Regions from separate parts of the Homo sapiens genome. Here all the other regions are linked to region 3. The links are contacts of gene promoters, found by promoter capture Hi-C in blood cells and fetal thymus (Javierre and others, 2016). All regions are on one chromosome and are shown on one strand. Each heading gives the region's core, a stretch centred on a gene start or on the middle of the fragment in contact. The rest is flanking DNA. Distances are from core to core; before and after follow the strand shown.

Evidence for each region. Contacts are between HindIII fragments. The CHiCAGO score rates a contact against its expected background, and 5 or more counts as called.
Region 1: a fragment that was not itself captured here is called in contact with the fragment with the promoter of KRTAP3-1 in region 3 in 9 of 17 cell types (naive CD8 T cells, total CD4 T cells, naive CD4 T cells and 6 more); the score reaches 9.8 in naive CD8 T cells.
Region 2: a contact is called between a fragment that was not itself captured here and the fragment with the promoter of KRTAP3-1 in region 3, in 6 of 17 cell types (non-activated CD4 T cells, total CD8 T cells, naive CD4 T cells and 3 more). The highest score is 6.8, in non-activated CD4 T cells.
Region 4: a contact is called between a fragment that was not itself captured here and the fragment with the promoter of KRTAP3-1 in region 3, in 4 of 17 cell types (total CD4 T cells, total CD8 T cells, naive CD4 T cells and 1 more). The highest score is 6.9, in total CD4 T cells.
Region 5: a fragment that was not itself captured here is called in contact with the fragment with the promoter of KRTAP3-1 in region 3 in 15 of 17 cell types (naive CD4 T cells, total CD8 T cells, total CD4 T cells and 12 more); the score reaches 14.9 in naive CD4 T cells.
Region 6: a contact is called between a fragment that was not itself captured here and the fragment with the promoter of KRTAP3-1 in region 3, in 3 of 17 cell types (total CD4 T cells, total CD8 T cells and naive CD4 T cells). The highest score is 5.5, in total CD4 T cells.

The regions. Positions count from the first base shown.
Region 1 is chr17:41,560,739-41,563,438 of GRCh38, forward strand. No RefSeq gene overlaps it. Among named protein-coding and RNA genes, the nearest start is that of LINC00974, 7.6 kb to the left of the region's middle. The HindIII fragment of the contact is 7,476 bases long and covers 1-2,700 here.
Region 2 is chr17:41,635,466-41,638,165 of GRCh38, forward strand. It overlaps the pseudogene KRT42P. Among named protein-coding and RNA genes, the nearest start is that of KRT17, 12 kb to the left of the region's middle. The HindIII fragment of the contact is 742 bases long and covers 945-1,686 here.
Region 3 is chr17:41,007,806-41,010,505 of GRCh38, forward strand. KRTAP3-1 (keratin associated protein 3-1) reads right to left here and starts at 1,323. Exons shown (of 1, transcript NM_031958.2): 1 at 716-1,323. The coding sequence starts at 1,269. The coding sequence ends at 973. The HindIII fragment of the contact is 1,175 bases long and covers 511-1,685 here.
Region 4 is chr17:41,654,366-41,657,078 of GRCh38, forward strand. LOC124904004 (a long non-coding RNA gene) reads right to left here and starts at 769. Exons shown (of 2, transcript XR_007065756.1): 1 at 1-769. RefSeq lists an enhancer at 1-580. The HindIII fragment of the contact is 2,956 bases long and covers 1-2,713 here.
Region 5 is chr17:41,538,166-41,540,865 of GRCh38, forward strand. No RefSeq gene overlaps it. Among named protein-coding and RNA genes, the nearest start is that of KRT19, 11 kb to the left of the region's middle. RefSeq lists an enhancer at 1,008-1,628. The HindIII fragment of the contact is 5,266 bases long and covers 1-2,700 here.
Region 6 is chr17:41,606,356-41,609,055 of GRCh38, forward strand. No RefSeq gene overlaps it. Among named protein-coding and RNA genes, the nearest start is that of KRT16, 5.1 kb to the right of the region's middle. The HindIII fragment of the contact is 1,661 bases long and covers 621-2,281 here.

The sequences.
Region 1 (2,700 bases), core at 128-2,627, 550 kb after region 3:
GGTAGTTGCAATTGAGAATCTAACCAATATAGAGATCAGATGACAAATGGAGTTTTAGCCCAAGTTTGCTTCTCATGAGCCCAGTGGTATCCCAGACCAATCCTGTGGTTATTTCCCAGTGTCTGGAGTGGACTAGACATAGTCAGTAAAAGGATCCTGATCCTTACCAGTAAGGATTACGTGGTTTAGAAAAAGGACCAGCAACACTACATCTCTAAGGGAATGACAGAGATTAGTGCCACATGAAAGATTTGATGGGCCAGGAGTGGTGGCTCATGCCTGTAATCCCTGCACTTTGGAAGGGCAAGATGGGGAGAGAACACAGGAATGTAAGATCAGCCCTGGCAATAGAGTGAGATCCCTGTCTCTAGTTTAAAAAAAAAAAAAAAAAAAAAAAAAACCTCAAAAATTAGTCTGGCGTGGTGGCACACGCTTGTAGTCCCAGCTACTTGGGAGCCTGAGGTAGGAGGATTGCTTGAACCTGGGAGGTCAAGGCTTCAGTGAACTGTGATTGTACCACTGCCCACCGGCCTGGGCAACAGAGAGAGACCCTGTCTCAAAAAAAAAATGATAAATTTAGGGTTAACTTGCCTAGTTTTTCTGTGCAGAACATGAACAGATGTTAGAGAATAGCCATGAATTATTTTACAATTTATCACATGGTTGTTCCAACAGCAGTCGTTGATCCAGATTGTGTCCCTTTTCTAAAGCAGATCACCATTGACCCTGGCACCTGCTGTGGGAAATTCTTTTTTCTTTATCCCAATAAACAAAGAGTACCAGAATAAATATGCTTTCACCTGCAGAGAAAGCAACACGGTCATTCCCCTTATCCATGGTTTCGCTTTCCACAGCTTCAGTTACCTGTGGTCAACTGTCATCCAAAAATATTAAATGGAAAATTCCAGAAATAAACAATTTGTCAGTTTTGAAGTGTGCTGCCCTGAAGAGCATGATGAAATCTCACACTGCCCCACTCTGTCCAGCCCAGGACAGGAATCATCCCTTTGTCCAGCTCTCCATGCTCTATGCACCACCCACCCACTAGTCGTCGCTTAGTAGCTGTCTCAGTTGTCAGATCAACTGTTGCAGTATTGCCGTGCTTGTGTTCCCTTATTTTACTTAATTACGACCCCAAAGTGCAAGAGCAGTGATGCTGATAATTCAGATTTGCCAAAGGGAAGCCACAAAGTGCTTTTTTTTTTTTCTTAAAAGGAGTTTTGCTCTTGTTTCCCAGGCTGGAGCACAATGGCGTGATCTCGGTTTACCTCAACCTCTGCCTCCCGGGTTCAAGCGATTCTCCTGCCTCAGCCTCCCAAGTACCTGAGATTACAGGCATGCGCCACCATGCCTGGCTAATTTTGTATTTTTGGAAGAGACAGTGTTTCTCCATACTGGTCAGGCTGGTCTCAAACTCCTGACCTCAGGTGATCCTCCAGCCTTGGCCTCCCAAAGTGCTGGGATCACAGGCATGAGCCACCGCGCCCAGCCAGCAAAATGCTTTCTTTAAGAGAAAAGATGACAGTTCAAAACTTACTACGGAAAGAAAAAAACCATACGCTGAGGTTGCTAAGATCTACAGTATGATAAGATATTTTGAAAGAGAGAGACCACATTCAAATAATTTTTATTACAGTATATTGTTATAACGATTCTATTTTATTAGTTATTGTTGTTAATCTCTTGGTCTGCCTAATTTATAAAGTAAACTGTATCTTAAGTATGAATGTGTAGGAAAAAGCATAGTGTAGATAGATTTAGGTGCTATCCACAGTTTTGGGCATCCAGTCAGGATCTTTGAATGTATTCCCTGTGAAATAATGAGCAACTACTGGGCATCTTTTCCAGGATGTGCAGAGAATCAAACTTGGAGGGTATGCAAACAGAAAAATTCCCCAAATCACACTCAAGGATTGCTCTAGGAACACACCACTGCTGTCACTTCTGGCCACCAAAATTGAAGCTCAAACTATGGATGATGGGCACTGCATGTCTTTGCCAGAGCCGCTGCTATTGCTTCCTCAAAAAATCACATATCTCTGCCCAACCTTGTTCCTGCCATAAAAAATTCCACTCAGCACCTCCTTTAAATCAAAATCAAAGTCCTTCACTCCAATGGGGTGCCATGGTTAAAAAAAAAAAAAAAACGTCTTGTGCGGGCGCACCTGAGTGGCAGGGCTGTCAGGGGCCCATGCCCTAGATGCAGGTGAGCTCGGAAAAGCAAGTTTCTGACCTCTCCCTTGGGGAGCTTCACACTTAAGGTGGAGAATTTCCCAAATTGAGGTAGAGAAAAGATACATAAAATGGGCCAGGCCTTGTGGCTCACACCTGTAATCCCAGCACTTTGGGAGGCCGAGGCAAGTGGATCACCTGAGATCAAGAGTTCAAGACCAGTCTGGCCAACATGGTGAAACCCCCGTCTTTACTAAAAATACAAAAATTAGCTCAGCGTGGTGGCAGGTGCCTGTAGTTCCAGCTACTCAGGAGACTGAGGCAGAAAATCGCTTGAACCCGGGAGGTAGAGGTTGGATTGAGCTGAGATCGTGCCACTGCATTTCAGCCTGGACGACAGAGTGAGACTCCGTCTCAAAAAATAATAATAATAATAAATAAAATAAATAAAAAGATATGTAAAATGGTAGATGAGGAAGACAGCAGGTAGCAGAAAAAGAACCAGAGAAGAGTAAACAGTTGCATATT
Region 2 (2,700 bases), core at 66-2,565, 630 kb after region 3:
AGTATCCTAATCTCCGCGGCACTAATGATTTAGGTGCTGCCAGGACACCGGCGTCTGCACCAGGCCTGTCTGAATGTGGAGCTTCCCAGGGCAGCCAGGGCCCGCGGAACAGGAGAGGGGAGAGAAGTGCATGGGTGGCCTGGGCTCTCTGCCCGCATACGGGGACAGGGAGGGAGTTGGGTTTTCCATGTGGCCCAGAGCTCCCAGATGAGACCACACTGCTGGAAAGACTTCCTGCTCAGATAGTGGGTGGTCTCTCACGGAAAGTGCCAGCTGGGGACTGTGCCAGCTGGGAATGGCAGGAGCTATCTGGAAGAGAGCGGTTGAGCCCTGATTTTACTGCTCCCGCCCAGCCTGTGAAGGTGCTGGGCGGGGATGGGGGGAGGTTCAAAACCAAGGCTAGAGAGCAAGGTCAGACCACCATGAGCACGAGGTTAGACATCTGGAAGGACTTCCTGGCAATCCAGGACTGTCTTCGGGGAGGAGAGAGACCCAGTAAAACCCGTGCTCACCTGAGCCGCCAGAGTCAAGACTGCACCAGCAGGCACTCACACACGAAGAGACACGAAACCAAGACCCTCCCCATCCCCATCCTCTCCTAACAACCCCTCCCTTCCCAGGCCCCATCCTCCCCTAGGCCAGCTGGGCTACCCAGGTGGGCCTCACTCTGGGCTCACAAAAGGGACTGCCCCGCCTTCCAGCAGCAAATGTGGGGCAAAGCCAGGGCCCTAGGGAGGGGGCCAGGTCGTGGGGTGCCACCACCCCTCTGCCTCCCCGTAGAGCCCACACCGCCAGTGCTCACCCTGCCTGGGAACCCCACTTCCAGAGTACCCAGACCTTAGTCTTGAGGCCCAATTTGAAGGAGCAGAGAGTTTATTACTCTTCTTTCTGCCTCTAAAATCACCAAGGCCTCCAACCCCCAATACCACCATTTAGCCCCCACAAGCTTCCTCACCCCTGACAGGCTTTGGGCCGCGAGCCTGCTCCTCTTCCTCTCTGGGCCTCAGTTTCCCCACGCCACTGACCCCCCCCCCAGGCCCCTTTGCTACTGCTCGTTAGAGGCTCTACTGCCTGTGAATCCCCCTCTAGCCCCCAACCCAGAGAAGCCTCACATGCTGAGGACAGGCCGGGCCAGCTGGGCCAGCCGGGCAGGAGGGCACAGCTCAGATCTCAGCAGAGATAGAAGTGGGACCCCAGGAAGGCCTCCCTGGCCCTCCAGAGCGTGGGGCCACTCCCTGGCCAGGGCTAGGAAAATGCAAACATTCCTCCTGAGACCCTCACAACAGTGCCTTGAGGACACCAAGACACAGGGTGCTTGAGCAGCGGGCAGTCGGGCAACCCAATGTTGGCATCAGAGCCGGGCCTGAAGCCAGGGCCTCGGCAGCTCCCACTCTCCCAGCCAGGGAGGAAGGCTTGACAGGGGCCGGCTGGAGGGCCACACAGAGGTCCTCTGGGCTGTGGCACATCCTGTCTGGGCCTGTCCTCCACCCCCAGCAGGGAGAGATCCCTGGCACCCGCAAGGGGCAGCCCAGGCCTGCAGCCCCGGCAGCGGCAGCAGCTTGGCCCCCATGGAAGACAAAGGGGTAAAGAAGGAGAGGTCCAATGGCTCTTCCAGCCCCAGAGGCTGCTGGAGCCCAGCGCAGGTGGGAGAGGGGGAGGCCCAGGGAGGTGGCTGGGAGAACTTGAAGCTTCCCCCAGTGCCCTGGGTGCCAGCCCCACCTTGACTCCCCCTCAGTCTCCTCTGCAGAGAGTGCAGAAAAGCCAGCATGCTGGAGAGCGCAGCACAGACAGGACCTGCCTGGAATTTGAGCAGAGCTAGGGTTTGGGGACAGTGTCCCCTAATATCACCCCTACTATGTTGTGGGGAGGCAGAGGGCGTAGAATGATCTGGGGCCCTATGGAAAGGAGATGTTCAATAGATGCATTTTTTTTTACTTTAAATAGAGATGGGGTCTCACTATATTACCCAGGCTGGTCTCAGGCTCCTGGGCTCAAGCAGTCCTCCTGCCTCTGCCTCCCAAAGTGCTGGGATTATAGGAGTGAGTCACCACGCCCAGCCAATAGATGCATATTGATATTGACAAGGTTGACAAGGTCTGGACAGGATCAGTGGCTCACACCTGTAATCCCAACACTTTGGGAGGCCGAGGCAGGCAGATCACTTGAGGTCAGGAATTTGAGACCAGCCTGGCCAACATGGTGAAACCCCGACTCTACTGAAAATACAAAAATAAGCCAGGCGTGGTAGTACCTGTAATCCCAGGTAGTCAGGAGGCTGAGGCAGGAGAATCGCTTGAACCCGGGAGGTGGAGGTTGCAGTGAGCTGAGATCGTCCCACAGCCCTCCAGCCTGGGCAACAGAGCGAGGCTCCATCTCAAAAAAACAAAAGAAAAAACAAAAAGACAAGGTCATGCCCCGTCTGCCCAGCTGGCCTTGGCTCCTACGAGCCCCCGCAAGGATTAACTGTCAACCCTTAGGATGGTGCCCACCCCATACCCCACACCCCTGCCCAGAACCAGCGCGGGCTGTATGCAGCAGGTGCTCTGTGAGTGCTTGCTGAATTGTTAGGGTCATGGAGCCTGAGCAGTGACTGGGGAGGAGACAAGGTCCCAGGAAAGGGACATGGCCACCTACCCTTCCCCTCAAGGAAAAGGGTCAGTATCAGGTGGTCAGGGAAAGTGAGAGGCCCTGGAGCCCAGA
Region 3 (2,700 bases), core at 73-2,572:
TTTGCTCTCAGAATTGTGTGACTATTTCTGGTGTATAGAAAATACTACACTGTAGTCTGATATTTTAAGCATATTTCAATGTCATGATATTATATGTCACTTAGACTAGCAAACTTCTAATCATAGTCATGACTAATGTAAACCAATGTAAGCCCCATTTGAGGAATCAATGAATACTCGATAAATGCTAACATTAATTAAAAATGGATTGTTTTGGAAGACAGCATATATGAAGAAATGGATATATACACTTCTCAAAATTGCTTTGCATTTTGAGCTCAGAATTTCAGATGACTGTGAGGACTAGGATAATCAAATTATTTATACACACCAGCACAGTGATCAATTCATTTAGTCAATTAAGGAAGAAAGAAAAATCAATGTCAGAATCAATGGAAACTAAAATCAAGTATTTTTAAAACATTCTGTTAATCTCTAGACTCTAGCATAGTGCTTGCACAGTGGATGTCTTCCAATAATATCTATTAAATAAATATCTGTTAAATAAAAAGCTTCTATAAAATGAACTACCACATTTTTTACTTTTTAACTTATCACAAATAACCAGTATCTATTTTTTCGATAAATTCCACTATGAGAGCTCTTATTCTGTTGGGGTAAATCTTGGATAGTGTGATAACCTACTGTTCAGGTTTAGGTAGGCATTCCACTTTCCCTAATGGGAGACATGAAAATAAATAATCACAAGGTCATATTTGCTAAGCCAGAATAAAGTTTATTAACAAATGGTCAAAATGGTTATTTCTCAAAGAGTGATGAAATAGCCTAAAAGACAGAAGGGAGGTCTCCAATGGTACCCAAATGTGCAAATAATTAAGAAGATTCATCAAGACTTGGCCCCGGGGATTGGGATGGCCTTAGCCTTGATGTAGGCAGTAGTGAGTGCTGAAGCCCAGATGGTGCAGAGGACATTGGGCAGCCACCTCACGGAACCTGTGCAGACTCGGCTGGTTAACAGCGGGGCTCACAGGGACTCTCACAGCCAGGCTGAACATAGGTGGTCAGGTTGATCCCACTCAGTCCGGGAGTCGGGTGACAGTTGTTGAGCAGCCAGCAAGTTGGCACATAGGTATCAGGCTTGCAGCAGGGTGGGGGGCAGGTGTCACAGCAGATGGGCTGAAGGAGGCTGATCTCATGTGGGCAGGTGCTGGGTAGGCAGACTCCACAGCGGCAGCTTTTATCAAATGAGCAGAAGGTGGTGGCAGGGCCGGTGGGGACGCTGCAGGAGCGGAGAGCACAGCAATACATGGCAATGGGAGGTGGGTTTTTGTTGAGTTGAGAGAAGTCTGTTGGTGTCTCGATGCTCCTCTCTTCTGCTCTGGCTCTTATATACCCATCTCCCTGGGCGTCAGCCTATTACTGAGGGTTTTTCCCCCATGTTTCAGTTTATAGTTATTTCCATAAAAAATGCCTAATTACTTAAGTGTTTATTACCTAAGATACACTGCTCACCTCATAAAAGAGATTTAGGTTGTTTTGTTGTCAAATTAGGACTATTCACATTGCCAGTGTGTCACTACACAGAAATCTTCATTCCAGTCTTCAAAGGTACCGGGCCATTATCTTCTAATCATTATACCCTCACTAATAATGGCTCGGTATGCCAGGCATCTGCAAACGTTTCCCACTTCTTTTGTTTACTTTTCAGATGAAGAGGACAAGTAAGCTTTTTGTTTGCTGTTCTACCAGTGACTACAGGTTCTATGTGATCCTTTAGGCCCTCAGGCTGAAAAAGTGATATAACATTTTAGATTTATTATTTGTGGCTCCAATAAACTGAATGAAGATGAATGGATAGAATCTATAGAGAAATAGATTTTGGTTTTGTGTAAAGAGGCACTTTCAAACAGAGCTATAACAAATCGTTTGTTCTGCATTCCTTTCAAATATGCTCTGAACAATAACTTGGTAAGAACATGCAGGTGGGAATGAAGACCTTCATGGGTGACAAAGATGGGTGTCCTTTAAGCTCCATCCAACTGTGTTATAAATGGAGATTATTTATAACCAAAAGGCTGGTTGTATTGGGCCATTCAGAAGCTAAATGATGCAGTATTTACCAGACTGAGTTCCATGAACACTGGTTCCAAGGGACTTGAAAGTGTTTTCTGGTAAGTAAGTTTGGGAAATGCTGAATTCTTCATTGTTGGGCCTCTCGGAGCCTTTAATGTGCTAAAATGCTCTATGACTTTTCAATACAGAGATATAGCATATATTTTTCTCCAAACTTACTTGACCATGGACTGCTTTTTGTTTGTTTTCAGAGATTAGCTCTATAGGTCAGTGCTTTATGAAACATACTTGGGGAGATTTAGCAACATCTTACAGCAAGCTTGTTCAACCTGTGGCCCAGAAAGGCATTGAATGCAGCACAACACAAATTCATAAACTTTCTTAAAACATTATGAGATTTTTTTGTGATTTTTTTTCTTTTTTTGCTCATCAGCTGTCATTAGTGTTAGTGTATTTTATGTGTGGCCCAAGACAATTCTTCTTTCAATGTGGCCCAGGGAAGCCAAAACATTGAACACCCCTGTCTTACTTCCAGGCTCTGTGGTCCAGAATAGAGACATTTCCGAGTTTCATCTAAACCACTAAAACTCTAAAAATAAAGTTTTAAAAGTAGATAAAGGTAGAAAATTTAGTATGATGATTTAGAATTACTTTAGAATATGAAAA
Region 4 (2,713 bases), core at 69-2,568, 650 kb after region 3:
TGCCCAGCCCTGACTCAGCCTAGGTGGGCCAGGGAAGCTGCAGCCTCAGCAGAACCAAGTCTCCCACCCCACCCTCCCCGCTGGCCTGCCTGGGATTGAACCAGGGGACAGGTCCTGGCAGGGGACTGAGAGTAGAGACAGCACCCCCTGGCCTCAGGACTTGGGGGAACAGCAGGGACTCTGTGGGACCTGCCCTTCTCCTGCACTGTCTGGAGGGTGCCAGCACAGCTCTGTCCGGGGGGGCTGCCCACAGCACATTTTCCCAGATGCCTGAGCCTCAGTTTCCTCATCCGTAAAAGGGGGCTAGTGACATTCCTGCCCACAGTGCAGGGCTGCAGTGGTGGAGGAGGTTCCCGGGAAGCATTTGAGAAGCAAACAGACCTCTTCCTAAGAAACAGAAGCGTCTGCCTAACCCCATGAGGCCAGGTGATCCCGTGCTCCATGCAGAAGAAACAGAAGCGTCTGCCCAGCCCCGTGAGGCCGGGTGGTCCCGTGCTCCATGCAGAGCAGGGTGACTCCATCATCCTCTGTCCCTGGCCCCAATACGGTTATTCCAAACTCCCCAGGACAAGGGCTGTGTCTCCCCCTCCGACTAGGCGGTCCCTGAAGGCTCGGGGCATGTCTCCCCTCAGACAAGAGGCTTCCCAGGGACAGAAACTCCATCCTCCTTGCTCCATCGCCCCACAGTCCCATGCCCTGCACTGCGGAAACCACAGGCCAGTGAAGGCCAGAAAAACTGCCCGTCCCCTCCTGGCGCCACCTTACCCCAGCCTCCCCAGGCCCTGACATCCACCTCCTTGCCCACCCAGCCAGCCCCCAAACGCGACGCTGGAGTGCCTCACGGTGCCCACCCAGACCCTGGGGATCAGGAGGCAGAGCCCCCCAGGTCTGGCGCTGGTAGAATCTCCCATCCCTCCCTGCCTGCAAAGAAAGGGCCCACTGGCCTCCCTCCCTGAGCCCTCCCACAGCTGGGCTGGCCAGAGAGAACTTTCTCCCTCTGCTCTCTTTCTCTGCTGTAGTTCAAGCACAGACCCTCTCACCCCAGCCAGCCCTTCTCCACCTTCCGGGCGCACAGTCTTAGGGGTGGAGCAGAGGCTGAGGTTGGGGGCCTCACAGTCAAAGGTGCTGAGACAACAGCCCCGCTGCCCTGTGCTCACTCAGAAGCTCCTGGGGAACTGGAGTGGAGGGGAAGGGTCCCCAAGCCCACAGGTTCTGGCTGCCCCTGCCACGTCCCCTCCCCCAGCCAGGCTTCTCCCAACTGCGGCAGGGCGTCTGGGCTCAGGTTGGGGTGCAGCGTTGGCAGGACAAACAGTCTCCAGTGTTGGGTGTTTGCCTCGGTTACCAAGGAGGGAGGTGAGGGGCCTGGCTCCCTGCCATGTTTGGGCCCCGGGCTGAAGGTGTGGGTGGCAGGGAAGGTGGAGGATTTGAGGTGGGGAGGCTCACTTCCCGCTCCCAGGGCTCGAGGGCAGGGCAAGCCAGCTGGGACTGCCAGATCCCTGGGCGGATTCAGACCTGCATCGGCCCTGCCTTTCTGCTGGCTCTGGGAAACTCAGTCAGGCAGGAGGAGACGCTGGGGGCGGGGCAGCCTCCCTTGCTGCTCAAAGCAGGGCTGTGGGCTGGAGGCTGGGCCCCGGCAAGTCAGGTACTGCCGTGGGTGTCCCAACCTTCCGGGACTGACGGCACCACGGCCTAACTCAGGCCGCCCGGGAGAGAGGCCTAGGAGCCCAGCTCTGGGCCCATGAATTTGGACAAGTCACCGCCCCTCTCTGGGCCCCAGTTTCCCCACCTATATAGTGTCAGGAGCTGGCCTGTGTAGTCCCACAGGGGCCTCCTTTGTTTTGTCCTCCCTGTCATGAGCTGGGCAGGTGGATGCTGAGGGGTTGAGGAGTTGGGCACTGAGCCGGGAGTTGTGACCCGGCCTTGAAGCCCTGGCTGGAAGGGCTCAGTACACATCCAGGCGGCCCTACTGCCCTGTCTGAGGCTGGCATGCAGTGAGTGCCCGGCTGAGTGCAGGAGCCCAGGGCTGTGGTCAGGAATGGCCGGGCCCTTTCTCCCTCTCTCAGCAATGATGAGAGCCACAGCCCAAGGAATCCCCTGCTGCCTCCTGCTCCCAGGTCTCCATCGCAGCCTCAGCATGACCGGCTCTGAGCAGGAAGTAGGGGAAGCAGGACAGAGGCTGGCCTGGCAGTCAGAGAGTGCACAGCCTGGCTCAGGAGGCTGGCAGGTCATCAGGGGCATAGAGCTGGCCCTCGTTGATGGGGCAGGGATGGCTTGGGGAGGGTGGAGACGCCGAGGCTTGAATTAGGGGGTGGGGGGTGCAGGTAGGGAAGAAAGGAAGAGGACTTGAGATTGTGACCAGGCAGTGCCACAAGGAACACAGGAGTGTGGGCCTTCCATGGGGAGGGAGGAAGGTGAGGCCAAAAGATGGCGGGGCAGGGGAAGGGACCACTTGCCTTGCAGCCCGGCCAGAGAGAGCGAGAATGAGCAGTTCCCACACCATGAAGACCTTTGCCCTGGCCCTGCTGGTGGCCCTGCTGTGCACAGAGAGACCCCAAGGTCTATGCTGCCACCAGTGCTTGGTGGCCCCAGCCTGGCACAGGCATGCCTGCCCCGCTGCCACATGCCCCTTCCCTGACAGGGTCTGCGTCTCGGGATATGAGAGACACAGGGAGTCTGGGTCCCTGTGGCATCTGGGAAAGTGAGAGTGGGGAAC
Region 5 (2,700 bases), core at 5-2,504, 530 kb after region 3:
GTGTCCACCTGGGCCCTGCCTTCACAGACGGAGCCCACAGTTAGGGGTTGGTATGAAAGAGGCGACTTTCTTTTTTTTTTTTTTTTTTTTCTTTTTTTTTTTTGAGACAGAGTCTTACTCCATCACCCAAGCTGGAATGCAGTGGCGCAATCTTGGCTCAGTGCAACTTCTGCCTCTTGGGTTCAAGTGATTCTCCTGCCTCAGCCTCCTGAATAGCTGGGATTACAGGTGCCTGCCATCACACCTGGCTAATTTTTATATTGTTAGTAGAGGCAGCGTTTCACCATGTTGGCCAGGCTGGTCTCAAACTCCTGACCTCAAGTGATCCACCCACCTCAGCCTTCCAAACTGCTGGGATTACTGGCGTGAGCCACTGCGCCCAGCCAAGAGACAGATGATTTCTAATGAAGATCTGTGTTTTCTACATTTTCAAAAAAGCAGCAGTGAGCATGTCTCACCTCTAGCATGGGTTGAGGGGAGTGCTTATTATTTTCAATTCTGACTCATTCCAGGCTCCACTGGCTTTAGGCTGGCAAGCGGGGCCTTGCAGACTTGGGGGAGGGGTGGTCAGGTTAGTGAGTTTCTGGACCAGGTGAGCAGGGGGTTGGGGCAGAAGGGGCATTCCTAACAGCAGCTGGAAGGAGCTTCAGAGCTGCTCTGGAGACAGGATGCTGAGGCCCTGCTCATCCCGGCTCCAACCGGCTGCAGGATAAACATTCATCAGGCAGAAACCACAGAGAATCACATAGCGAGATGGGCTGCCAGGAGCTGGGAATACCAGGAATGCCCAGGCCTGGGGACTAAGGGGGAGATGAGGGAGAACGGGGGAGATCCCCTTTGCCCCAAGGAAGAGCAGCTGACGCCTGATCCCATGAGAGGGGCCTGGTATCTGAAGCGCTTTTTGAAGTCAGTTGAAAAGGAACACTATCCCACCTCAAAGACACACACACAGAGTATTAACAGAAGACAAAGCCTCACCGGCTCCCTTAGGCATCTCACGTGCATTCCAGGCAGGAACTACCCAGTGCCAGCATCAGCCCTCAGCAGGCTGCCCAATTACCAGCCCAAGGCCTACCAGCCGTGCCAGCACCAGGGAGGCACGGGGGATGCACCAAGGAACCACAGTGCCAGGAAGCATCTTCTGCCCTCCCCTGGCTCAGTCCTGCCAAGACCCTTCCCCCTCCAGTGGAATGTGCTGGAGTTGGAGAGGAAAGTGCTTCCTCCAAAGTCCTTGCCTGGGATTAGGGCTGGAGCCTGTGGGGATGAGAAGATCCACCAGAGATATCTGTCCTCGCTGAGTAAACATACAATGAGGACCTGGTACACAGAAACCGAACAAACACATCCCAACAGGGATATCCATGTCTGGGGCTTCAGAAGAAAGGGCTGGAGCATGGGGAGAAGAGAGGAGGCTTCACGAACCCCAAGTTTCCCATTCCTGCCATGTCCATGTTACCTCATCCTTATCCTCACCTTGACTGCTAAGAAACATAGTAAGCATCTTCTTGGCCGTGCACAGTGGCTCACACCTGTAATCCCAGCACTTTGGGAGGCCAAGGCAGGTGGATCACCTGAGGTCGGGAGTTCAAGACCAGCCTGACCAACATGGCGAAACCCCATCTCTACTAAAACTACAAAAATTAGCTGGGCATGGTGGTGAGTGCCTGTAATCCCAGCTACTAGGGAGGCTGAGGCAGGAAGAATTGCTTGAGCCTGGGAAGCAGAGCTTGCAGTGAGCCGAGATAGAGCCACTGCACTCCAGCCTGGGCAACAGAGCAAGACTCTGTCTCAAAAAAAAAAAGAAAAAGAAAAAGAAACATAATAAGCATCTAAAAGCCCAGCAAGATGATTTAGACAAAACTCCTACACTTGTAGGATGGGGGCATAGAAATCTTCTAGCCCAGAGATCTTCAAGCCTCGCCTGCTAAGCCCTAAGCAGAGAGGTGGGAGCTGAGCGGATCTGCTGTGACCACCCACACTCACACACACTTACACACCTCACACAGTATTCACACCTACTCACACATGCACACACATGCATACACATGCTCACACATACACTCACACACTCCCAGGCCTTCTCACACATGCATTCACACTGGTTTTATATACTCAGCTTTCTGTGAGATTTTGCTTCAGCAAAGATTCTCCCTCTTTTAAAGCCCAAACACGTGCTTCAGCCTACCTCCAGCAGTTTATATAGGTCAGAAAACTGAGAGAGAGTGGGGCCTCAGCCTGCCTAAAGTCCCACAGCTGGTGTCCTGCTCAGCAGAAACCAGCAGGCAGGTGCCCTGGAGCCAGGATGTCTGTCCCCAGGGGACGACCTGAGCTCGGGGAAGAGAAAGAGGTAAACACTGTAGGCTCCTGACAAAGGCAGGAGGCAGGCCAGGGTCAGAGGAGGGACATAGACCCGGGGCTGCTGGAGCTCAGATGGAGGGCACCCTGAGTGAGGGATCAAGGCCTGGGTAAGCAGGGAGGGCGCCCTGGAGGAGGGGGCCCTTCACAGCCCCAGGGTGAGCCACAGTAAATGGTGCCTAGAGTAAGGACATGGAGGTGGCGGATAGTGGGAAGTTCCAGTAAAAAAGAAATCTTATAAAAACAGGCTAAATGTATTGGCCTCTTCCTCTATGCCTAACTCTGTTCGAGTATGTGGCATCCATGAACTTGTTTAAATCATCGAAGCTCCCCTATGCTGTGGAC
Region 6 (2,700 bases), core at 201-2,700, 600 kb after region 3:
TAAAAGACTGCTGTTGTTTTTAAGACAGGATCTCACTCTGTTGCCCAGGCTAGAATGCGATGGTGTGATCTCAGCTCACTGCAGCCTCGACTTCCCAGTCTCAAGTGATCCGCCCACCTCAGATTCCCTAGCAGCTGGGACTACAGGCACAAGCCACCACATCCAGCTAATTTTTGTATGTTTTGTAGAGACAGGGTCTCACTATGTTGCCCAGGCTGGTCTCGAACTCCTGGGCTCAAGCAATCCAACCACCTTGGCCTCCAAAACTGCTGGGATTACAGGCATGAGTTGCTGTGCCCGGCCAAATACAGCAGATTTTTTAAAACTCTGAATAATGGAGTTAGAGGTCAAAGTTAAAGAATTTCTCAGAAAACAGCAACAACAACAACAAAGAAAAGACAAGATGGAAAATAAAACAGAATACCCAGGAAAAAGAGCCATTTCAGAAAGAGAGAAAATGGAGGGAGGAAATCATGAAACACGAAAATTTGCCAGAATTGAACAACATGAGCTCCCACATTAGAAGTTTCTGCTAGAGTCCAGCCGGTGGATGAAGTTACAGCTGCATCAATTCAACACATGGTATTTCAGCCTGCTGGAGAGAAAGAGAAGAACTGAAAAGCTTCTAGGGAGGAGAGTGGGAACAGGATAATAAGAAATGATCTCGAGTCAACGTGGCATAAGACTTCTCAACAGCAACACCAGAAGCCAAGAAACAGTGAAACTGTACCTTCAGACGCTGAGTGCAAATGATTTCCAAGCTAGAATTCTATACCCAGCCAAACTATCAGTCAAGAGTGAAGATAAACTGAAGATCTTTTTGACACAAATGGTCTCAAAAAATTTAACCCCGATAACTCCCTTTCCAGGAAACTACTTGAGGATGTGCTTCACTAAAACAAAGGGAAAAATAAAAACAGGAAGGAGGAAGACATTGGATCCAGAAAACAAGGAATGCAACACAGGAAAAAGAAGGAATTTCAGGATGATGGTGAAGAGAGATTCCAGGATCACAGCTGAGCAGAAGACCCAGACAGCACCCAGAACAGACAAGAGCAGGACAGAAGGCCCTAGGAGACACATCTTCATGAGGATGAAATTGATAGAACACCCAGGGTTCTAAAATACTGAGGAGATTTATACTTCCAGCAGTGAATCAGGAAACAAATTAATGATCAATACATAGAAAGTTTAGGCAAATTGAAAAGGAGATATTTATTCCAAGGAAATTTAATATAGCATAAAATGTAACATAGTATAATATATGGTTTGACTATGAATAACATTTAAATAGTCTTAATAATGTAAACATTTATCTAACAAAAATATGAATATATTGAGAAGGTGGGAAGAAGATATTTAAAAAAGAAGTGGGCAGGCACAATGCTGTATAACAGATCTACATCCTCATCCTTCACAGCCAGAAGTCAAGCGATTAAAAACTGAAACACAAAAATCAAACAGTAACAAGGTAAAGCCTGTTATTTAGAAGTAAGGAGACAAATCCCAAAAGAAACAGCTGAAGTTGAAAGGGGGAGGCGGGAACAGAGCTGTGATATCCAGTCTGGGGATGGCTTTTTCATTAAAAAAAAAAAAAAGAAGAAAGAAAGTCTTATTCACAATAGCAAAGACTTGGAACCAACCCAAATGTCCATCAATGATAGACTGGATTAAGAAAATGTGGCACATATACACATTGGAATACTATGCAGCCATAAAAAAGGGTGAGTTCATGTCCTTTGCAGGGACATGGATGAAGCTGGAAACCATCATTCTAAGCAAACTATCACAAGGACAGAAACCCAAACATCACATGTTCTCACTCATAGGTGGGAGTTGAACAATGAGAACACATGGGCACAGGGTGGGGAACATCACACATCGGGGCCTGTCGGGGGTGGGGGGCTGTGGGGGGATAGCATTAGGAGAAATACCTAATGTAAATGATGAGTTGATGGGTGCAGCAAACCAACATGGCACTTGTATACCTATGTAACAAACCTGCACATTGTGCACATGTACCCTAGAACTTAAAGAATAAAAAAAAAAAAAAAAAAAGTCTTGGCTGGGCGCCATGGCTCACGCCTGTAATCCCAACACTTTGGGAGGCCAAGACAGGCAGATCACGAGGTCAGGAGATCGAGACCATCCTGGCTAATAAGGTGAAACCCTGTCTCTACTAAAAATACAAAAAACAATTAGCCAGGCATGGTGGCAGGTGACTGTAGTCTCAGCTACTCAGGAGGCTGAGGCAGAAGAATGGCATGAACCCTTGAGGTGAAGCTTGCAGTGAACCGAGATCACGCCACTGCACTCCAGCCTGGGCGACAGAGCAAGACTCCGTCTAAAAAAAAAAAAGTCTTATGATGTTGTACATACATAACATTTTTTTAATTTAAATAGTTAAAACATGGAAGGCATCCAGGAAGAAGGAACGGCAACTGAGAGGTATGGGCCATATCTCAGTCAGGTAGGGGTGACTCAGGGGTTTGGAGCTGGGAGGGGCAGGAGGACACCAAGCTGAGTTGAGACTGAAGGCTGAGTGCTGCAGGGGAATGGGATCCATCGCAGGCTGTTAAGCAGGGGGGTCCTGATCTCACCCTTGTTCTTGATCTTGACCACATTCTGGTGGAAATCATTCAGTGGAAATTTAATGTGGATGAGATTGACTCTCAAAGGGGACCCAGTTAGGCTGTGCCC